2 separate regions of the Homo sapiens genome follow, and region 2 is linked to region 1. Evidence: promoter capture Hi-C in 16 types of primary human blood cells and fetal thymus (Javierre and others, 2016). All regions are on one chromosome and are shown on one strand. The core of a region is centred on a gene start or on the middle of the fragment in contact, and the rest is flanking DNA. Distances in the headings are between cores, read along the strand shown. Region 1 has its middle 72 kb from the start of IGLL5. Region 2 holds the start of PPM1F-AS1 (PPM1F antisense RNA 1).

The links. Contacts are between HindIII fragments. The CHiCAGO score rates a contact against its expected background, and 5 or more counts as called.
Region 2: a contact is called between the fragment with the promoter of PPM1F-AS1 here and a fragment that was not itself captured in region 1, in 1 of 17 cell types (total B cells). The highest score is 5.8, in total B cells.

Annotation. Positions count from the first base shown.
Region 1 is chr22:22,957,132-22,961,584 of GRCh38, reverse strand. No RefSeq gene overlaps it. Among named protein-coding and RNA genes, the nearest start is that of IGLL5, 72 kb to the right of the region's middle. The HindIII fragment of the contact is 1,860 bases long and covers 1,068-2,927 here.
Region 2 is chr22:21,936,734-21,940,863 of GRCh38, reverse strand. PPM1F-AS1 (PPM1F antisense RNA 1) reads right to left here and starts at 2,627. Exons shown (of 2, transcript NR_147620.1): 1 at 1,251-2,627. PPM1F (protein phosphatase, Mg2+/Mn2+ dependent 1F) reads left to right here. Exons shown (of 8, transcript NM_014634.4): 3 at 1,184-1,332. RefSeq lists enhancers at 589-1,395, 1,396-2,203, 2,204-3,010 and a silencer at 2,493-2,652. The HindIII fragment of the contact is 1,993 bases long and covers 1,900-3,892 here.

The sequences.
Region 1 (4,453 bases), core at 748-3,247:
TATTACCTATGTCAATTTTGGATCAGCTTTGACTGGCTGATATTTTCCTAACTATGGATCATATTCTTCCACTTCTTTGCCTGCATGTTAATTTGTAGTTGAATGCTAGACATTGTGCATTTTATCTTTGCAGGTGCTAGATATTTTTGTATTCTTAAGTTGTGTTCTGGTACACAGTTAAATTATTTTGAAACAGTTTAATCTATCCCCAGCTTTCTTTTAACATTTTTACATGAGACCACAACAGCATTAAGTCTATGGTTAATTTTGTCCACAGATCAGGAAGACTCCTCTGAGTACTCTACCTGATGCTTAATGAATTATGAGATTTTCTGTACTTGTTGATGAGGTCAGGCATTATTTTCAGCCCTGAATTTTCTCTGGGGATTGTTCTGTTCAATGCTTTTGGGTAGTCTTTTTCTTGGCCTCAGGTACATTCCTCATATGCATACACTGATCACTACTCAGTATAATACTTACACTCTCGTATTTGCAGAGTTCTCTTTCTGTTAAGCTCCCTCCTCTTTGGTACTCTGCCCTATGAACTCCAGCGGCCTGGGATCCCAAGCAGCTCTGTTTCTTCAACTCGGGGAGGCCAGTGGGCTGTGGTTACGTTCTCTCCTCCTTGAGCCTCAGACTGGAAACTCTCCATGCAGTAATCTGGGGCAATCGTGGGGCTCATCTTATTCATTTCTCATCTCTTATAAACCACTATCTTTCATTGCCTGATGTCCAGTGACTTAAATATTTTGTGTTGTTTTTAAAATTATTCCAGGCCTAAAAATAAATCCAGCTCCTGTTACTCCATGTTGACCAGAATGTATAATTGTTATTGCTGTTTTTTTTCTTTAAAAAACACCTTTATTGAGATGACTTATCCAATTAAACTGAGGCTCATTTGCAGGGATAGTTTTTGAGGTCAGTGTTTGAGGTTTGCTTTGACCCCAAGAGGTCTGTTTTTAGCCATGTCTTTTCCTGGTTCTCTCTGATAAACTAGCTGGCCTATGGTCTAGTTTATGTCACTAATGAACTTACCAGTTTCCTCTCAATTGCTTTTTGCCCAAGCTTCATTGTTTTGAAAGTCCCCTTAATGTTGAACTTTGTACTCATTTGCAAATAAAGTCAGTTCATTCGGGAAGGGCTTTAGAGCTCTCTATGTCCTGCCTTTCCTCTTGGGGAAATGTTTCAGGAGCTTTTGGCTATGGCTCTGGGGCTGGGTGGGGACAGTGGTAGGTAGCTACTTTCTGAGTGACACCCCTGCTTTAGGAGGTGGGTGCTTATTGGAGAGTCTATTGTATTCCCAGCTTGCTTCTCATAGCATGGAACCTCTACTTTACAAATGAGCTGGTTGATGGTGCCAGTATTCTCAGTGTGTTGCACCCAAGGCAGGGCTTTTGTCCCACAAGTAGGGGCTGAGCAAAAGAAGAGAGCCTCAACCGATTACTACAATCACCTGGAATTTAGTCTCTGCAACAGGTAGCTGGGGTGGGAAGAAAAATGCTGATGGATTTTCCTTCTTGGGAAAATACCATAGCCCTTGACTGGGAGCTGGGTGGAGACAGTGCTGTGTCCTTGGCTGTACCCACCTGGAGTGGAGTTTCTGTCACATTTTGCTGGCAGTGGGAGGAATGGAGCAGGTCGTGGTTGAAATGCCACAGACCCTCCCATTTCTTGCCAGGTTTTAATAGATGTTCTTGAATTAAATGTTTTTTTATTTGCTGTATGCCCTAAGGCCATTTCTAGAGACTTTAAATAAATACATATATCTTAAATATTTTATACACACACACAATTGCCCATTCTGGAAGTGGAAGTCCCCCGTCTCCACCCCCAGGAGGTTTTCAACACTCTAGATGTGGATGCCCAGCTGACCGCTCACTCTGCCTCCCACTGCAGGAAGACTCAAGGATAGATGCCCCAGTGAGTCAACCTCCTAGCTTCTTTTCAAATTCAAACAATCTTTTCTCTAGCCACACCTTGGTTCATAGGCTAAAACCCTTGTTACTTGGATTTGACCTTTTTGAGAATTTTTGGAGCGTGCACAGTCTTGTTGAACCCTAATGCAACCAAGTAGTTGTGTAGTTCTCTTCTAGGGTCAGATTCACTCTCATCAGATAATGTGTGGACCCGGGAAACAAATTATCTGTACATGCTGGCCGTCTCCCTGCATTTCCGCCACCTGGTGGGCAATTTTCACATGGACTGCCTTGAATCTGGATTATATTTGGTGGTCTCTGGCACCCTCCGGTGATGAGATATTTTAGCCCTGTGTTTTGTGGTAGTTTGACCGTATTTCATTTGTGATGAAGTGATTTTTGACCTGTATAACTGCTTTACAAGGAAACACACTTGGAGCTTGTTCACTGAGGGGCTGGAATAGTCAATCTGCATCCATGTCCACAGGCTGTTGGCTGGCATTTCTTCGGTGATGAGTCTGGTTTAGCCTCATTGTGAGAACATGCAAGGTGTGTGCATCCCTGGGTCTCTAGTTTAGTGTTCCTTCCAGGTCTTGGGCACCTATCCCAGCAGATCTTGGTGGCAATCATGAAGGATATCCTGGGGACATCACAACATAGTCCTCTCCCAGTTTTGCTGGCCAGCAGTGAAAAGACCGAGAGGCTGCTTTCGGGTCTTGTTTTTACAACTAGACCTTCGAAAGACATAAAGCATCTGTGTCCCTGCTTTGTAAGGTTCCAATCACCCCAGATCTTTTTCTTCATCCCCATGAGCAGTGGGGGGTCACGTTAACAATTTGGATCCAGTTATTCTCAGCAGCTAATGTCCTTCCAGCAGAGAGGGCGGACGCTGGGACTGTCCCATCATCGATGTTCCTCCAGCTCAGCCATCTTCTGGCTGCTGGACCAGATTGTCTGACTTTATTACCCAAGGGCTGAAAGGCTTATTGTCCCTGTGGCCACTTGGAAGCTTATGATCTTTGACTCCTGAGCTGTATTCTGTCATCCATTTAGCATAATATAGCGATCAGTCCAAGGACTCCAGTTCCTTATTTTACTTGTGAAGGATCATTTAGAAAAAAAATTCAACCTCCTTAGCAGTAGTTTGTCCTGGAATGTTGGTTTTATTAATAATTACTGTGGGTTACACCTCCCCTGCCTTCTCACCTTCTTTGAGGTTTCCCACATGAAAACCCCTGACACTGACTGAGGGATGGTCAGATTTTTAAAAATGTGACATTGGGGTTTTGAGGACCAGCATTCACGTCCATCCTGTATGAGGCCATCCTTGAAGTCAGAAGTTTTCCACTCTGAACCATCATTAGAGGAGTCATCGCTATGGTGACATGATGGTTTTCTCTCTTTCCATGAACTTGGAGATGGGGAATTATTTGAAAAGATAGAGAGCTGAGTGTCCAACCTCACTCTGGTCATATGACGTCTCTAGGGGAGCAAAGGCTAAAGGAAATTGGTTTCCTCCTTGCTGTGCAATGCACTAGCTTTTGGACACATGGCTGTCCTGTCACTTTTTACTGGAGCTAGGCCCGAGGCATTTGCAGGAGTGTAATTTATTTGGCCCCAAGCTGTGACACGTTCTGGGTCCACCGGAAATTCTTGATTTCTTTTATACTCTGCTGGGCGGGCTTCTCTAGGGTACTTATTCTAGGAATAAATCTCACGAATCTTTGTGGGCTTTGAAGTCCACATTGCTCCTTGGAGAGGAGAGAGCATCTGCATCCATTCTTTGCTCACCCACCACCCCCGAAGTGGCCATTCCAAAGAAAGCTGCCTGTGTTCTCACTGGCTGATATCTATCCCCATTTTAACCTGATTTAGATGGGGCTGACCAGCATTTATGGTTTGGTCACAACGCTTGCCTTCTGCAGTTCCCTGTGGCAGCTGACTGTTTGCATTCTGCAAGATGAATGCCTGAAGGCTTCATTTGACTTCATTTGATTGAAGGTCTATCATAGTAGCAGTTCGGAGATGACCTTCATTTCCATGCCATCTTTTGATGCTGAGATATTGTGTCAACCAGGGTAGACTCAGGAGGCAAACCACACCAGTAATTTGAACAGGGATTTTTTCAGAGTTGTTAAACTATAAAGAGTGGTGAGCTCATGAAAAGGATAAAGCAGGACTGTACAACGTTCATGAGTAGCAGATTCAGAAAGCAGCTACCGACTCACGCGGAGTGAGTGAAGGAACTAAGAGCTTGAGAATGGGACCCCAGGCAAGGCTGAGATTCAGACTTTTCCAGGAGAGCATGGTTTTGCTGTGAGCTGTAGCCTGCCAGAGGCCAAGACGCTTGCCAGAGAGTGTGAGCAGAAGCTGGTCCATGGAAGGGCCTATCATTGCCCAGGGGTATGTGGGTGGGCTGGTGCAGGTCTGGAGGATCAGCCCCAGGGTGGAAAGGTGATTGCCTGAGGATGCAGTAGGAGCTTGTCTGTAGAAGCAGCAGCCAGGGACTTTATATTTGCACAGATAATCTTTTCACA
Region 2 (4,130 bases), core at 1,378-3,877, 1.0 Mb after region 1:
AAGCTTGGCCTGCCCTGTTCCCACAGCCCCTCACCCCGGCAGCTCCTATGGCCCCATCCGCCCAGGGACCTTGTGGACCACGCACAGCCACTTCCTCTGCTGAGTGTGCCCATGGGTCCCACACCCCAGGATCAGCTTCCTGGAGCTGCTGTACAAATGACCACAGACCCAGCAGCTTAAACAACAGAAGTGTGCTTCATGGTGCTGGAGGCTGTCATCTGAGATCAGGATATTGACAGAACTGGCTCCTTCTGGTGGTTTGTGGGCAACCCTTGGCATTCCCTGGCTTGTAGGTTCATCCCCCAGGTCTCTGCCTCATGTTCCCCTGGCATTCTCTCTGTGTGTGTGTGTCTGTGTCCAAATTCCTCCCCCAACCTGTTTTTTTTTTTTGGAGACAGCATCTTGCTCTGTCGCCTAGGCTGGAGTGCAGTGGCACAATCTTGGCTCACTGCAACCTCCACCTCCCAGGTTCAAGCAATTCTTCTGCCTCAGCCTCCTGAGTAGCTGGAACTACAGGCATGCGCCACCACACCCGGCTAATTTTTGTATTTTTAGTAGAGATGAGGTTTTACCATGTTGGCCAGGCTGGTCTCAAACTCCTGACCTCGTGATCTACCTGCCTTGGCCTCCCAAAGTACTGGGATTACAGATGTGAGCCACCGCACCCGGCCCAAATTCCCTTTTTCATAGAGACATCAGTCATTGGAGTAGGGGCCCAGCCTGCTCCAGCATGACGTCATCTTAACTAATTCCATCTGTAATGACCCTGTTTCCAAATGAGCTCCATTCTGAGGTACTGGGGGTTAGGGCCTCAGTGTATGAATTTAGGGGGGACACAATTCAACCCAGAACACTCCCCACCCCCCAGGGTCCCCAGCTGGCATGGGTGATTCCTCTGCCCTCCTGTGGCCAGGAGCCATCATCAGCATGGATGTCAGGCAGTTTACTTGCCCATCAACAGCCCCCTCCCAACTAGCCGCAGGCTCAAGTATGGTCCAGCTCCCCACCAGATGGTTGTGCGTCTGCCTTTGCTGTCCTGTGACCTTCCTGTCCCAGCTCCCTGAGGACAGGGGCCGCCCTGCTGGCCGTGACCCCTCAGCATGTGGGCTGACAGTTGGGGAAGGGGGGCTAGGTGTGGTCTCCTGCTGGGGGCTGCCCCTCACTTCCCCCTCCTCATCCCTAGGAAGGCCCCGCCACCACTTGCTGCTGCTCTGGCCCACGAAGCAGTTTCACAGCTGCTACAGACAGACCTTTCCGAATTCAGGAAGTTGCCCAGGGAGGAAGAAGAAGAGGAGGAGGACGATGACGAGGAGGAAAAGGCCCCTGTGACCTGTGAGTTCTGTTTCTTCTGAGGTGGCCCCAGGGCTGCTTAGCAGGCAACAAAGGGTGACGACATTGTGGGAAGCCCATTGATTGGGGTCCCTAAGGGTGCTGGGGCCCTCGCTCACAACGGCAGCAGAATCAAGGAGCAGAGAAGGCTTGCGGCCCCAGTGAGGTGGAGGGTGGCGGTCACAGCCCTCCACAGGTCATATAGTTCCCAGTCAGCCCACGAGGCAGGGGTGGGTGGTGCAGACACCCTCCTGTGTCCTGTCTGACTGAAGTTCCAGAACAGCCCAGGAAATTAAAGATGCTTATCCCGTTTCACAGAGGATCTCACAGGTGATCGATCTCTGGTCATGCAGCCAGGTTCAAGTGCCCTCAGTGTTGTAACTCAGTTAACATGCGCCCGGGCAGGCGAAGTCAGGGTTGGCCAGGTGGCATGCCAGCAGGTCTCGGGGCAGCAGCGTGGTCCCCTCAACGCTCGGGCCCCCTGCCTCAGCTGCCCCCAAGTCAGGATTCTGTTGGGTGGAGACGCTCTACGGTGTCCATGAGCCCCATGGTTAGATGCTGGTGGAAGCTTGTCTGTCAGCCTGCTCCTGGGACAGCCATAAGCATGGTGTGGCCAGGGGAACCCAGAAATGGAGAGGGCTGCAGATCCATTTCACAGAGGATATAATCATTAAAAAGCAGGGCTTTTATTTCATGTGACTTTCTTTCATTCTCCTAGTAATTTCATTTTATTATATTTCGCCAAAGTGTTGGTTGATGTTAGACCAGAAATACAGGGCGTAAGAATCGCAGGCTGCAGCAGGGGTGCCACAAGGGGGTAGCAACGTCCCACCCAGCTGAATAGTTGTCCCTGGACAGGCCAGCAGGCAGCAGAGTTGCAGTGGATTTTCCCTTCCTTGCCATTTCCTGTCGGCCATTTCCTTTCCCTTCCTTTGCCATTTCCTTTCCTTTCCCTGTTGTTCTAAATTCGGCATTACTAGTGCATGCGTGCATCCGGGGAAAAGGAACAAGGTGGGAGAAGAGAGAGAAAGCGAATACCCGAGGCCGCCAGCATCAGTGGGTGCCCGCGCTCTCCTCCTCGCTCTCGTCCTCTGCCCTCCGCCCTGGCTCCCTGCCCGCATTCCCTGGGAGCGCAGCCTTGCCTTAGCCTGGGAGACAGCTGTCCACAGTGACAGGCGGCCATTGTTCTCGGCCGAGCCAGCAGGCTTCCGGCCGGTGGCAGCTGCTGCTCCTCCGCTCTGCGGCCCCACCAAGGGGGCGCCGCCACCGCCCAGGCCCTCCCCGCCTGATGGGTCTCTGTCCGTCCACGCGGGAGACAGCGCCACCTGCCGGTGAGAAGGAGCGTTGCTGCGCCGGCACCAGCCCAGTCCTACGCTCGGGGCTCCTGCAGGCCTGGGAAGGAGGGAGGGCGCAGCTAGAAGGAAGTCTCGCCTGCCCTTGCTTCCCCGTCTGTCAGAGTGCCTCGCATGCAGGCCTGCCTAGCGGCCTTGATCATGCTCTCCCTGTCACGGAAGTAGAATGTAGTCAAGTTTTTGGACTCCAAGCCATTCTTACAAAATTGCGTCAGAGTGGGGATTGTATTATAAGAATTGCCACTGAAGAGCAGCGAGTGGCTGAAACCTCTGTGTGGCTGCCAGTCAGCCCCTCCCCGGTGACTGGATCAGCGAAGAATCCAGAAGCGAGGTTGCGGGGCTGCAGCCCTTGGCATGGGGAGTCCGTGGGCTGGGCAGCACTGCCTCAGCCGCTGGCCTTTCCTGAGCAGAGTCTAGGCTAAGCGGCTGTTGGAAATAGCAGTAGCACCCGGGGCGAGACCGTGAGCCACAGCGGCGGCCGGAGTCTCCCCCAGCCCGAGCTCAGGCCTGGTAAGCACCAGGAGCCCACAGTTTCCAGAGGGAGTGAGGAGGAGTCCATGGCATTTAGGGGCAGTTTTCTGGGCACAGTGGCCCTCAGACGAGAGGAAGAGGAGGCAGCGCTACAAGGACTGGCAGGACGAGGGGGGTTTCCTGCTGGTTTGCAGGGGATCCACTGGCCAAACTTGTGTGGAGCTGCCTTCCCTGAGCTGGGCCTGCCTGAATGAGTTCTCAGGCCCCTCCTTCACCCATAGCCTTGCCAGTCCCCAGTTCTTGCCAAATGCTTGAATAGGCCCCTGTGTTGGCCATGGCGGCAGCAGCTGGCTCTGGATGCCCCCACCCCTGCCTTGATGCATGGATTCCCAAGAACCTGTCTTTCTGTGACCTCCTGCGTGCATAAGCCCTCGCGTTCATGGTTCTTCCTCGGTGGCCCCCTCTGGCCTCAGCCCTTCTCCTTTTCTTCCACAGCCTCCGCCTTTAGGCAGGAGCTCTTTCCTCCTCTCAGTTCCCCATGTCCTTTGGGTGTGGCCTGTGACACTCAACTCCTGCCCTCGGCTGACTGGCCCTGATTCACCATGCTTGCCACATGCACCTGGGCTGGCAGGAGTTCCAGGAGAGTTTGTGCATTGAAGTGACATGAGTCCCTGAAGCCAGAGCCCCCATGGTTTCCTTTGGGCCTGTTACTGGTTGATCTTTTCTTGAGAAGCCAAGCTTAGGTAGGATTTGGGTATTTTTTCTTTTCAAATGAGTATTGTGGCTTATATTATTTGTTGCTACATAACAAATTGCCCCAAATGTAGTGGCTTAAAACAACAGACATTTATTCTCCCAGTTTCTGTGGGTCTGGAATCTGGGAGCAGCTTAGCTGGTTCTGGTCCAGGGTCTCTTACTGGGTTGTGGTGACATGGTTGCTGGCTGGGCTGGAGGGCCTGCTTCCACGGTGGTTTCAAC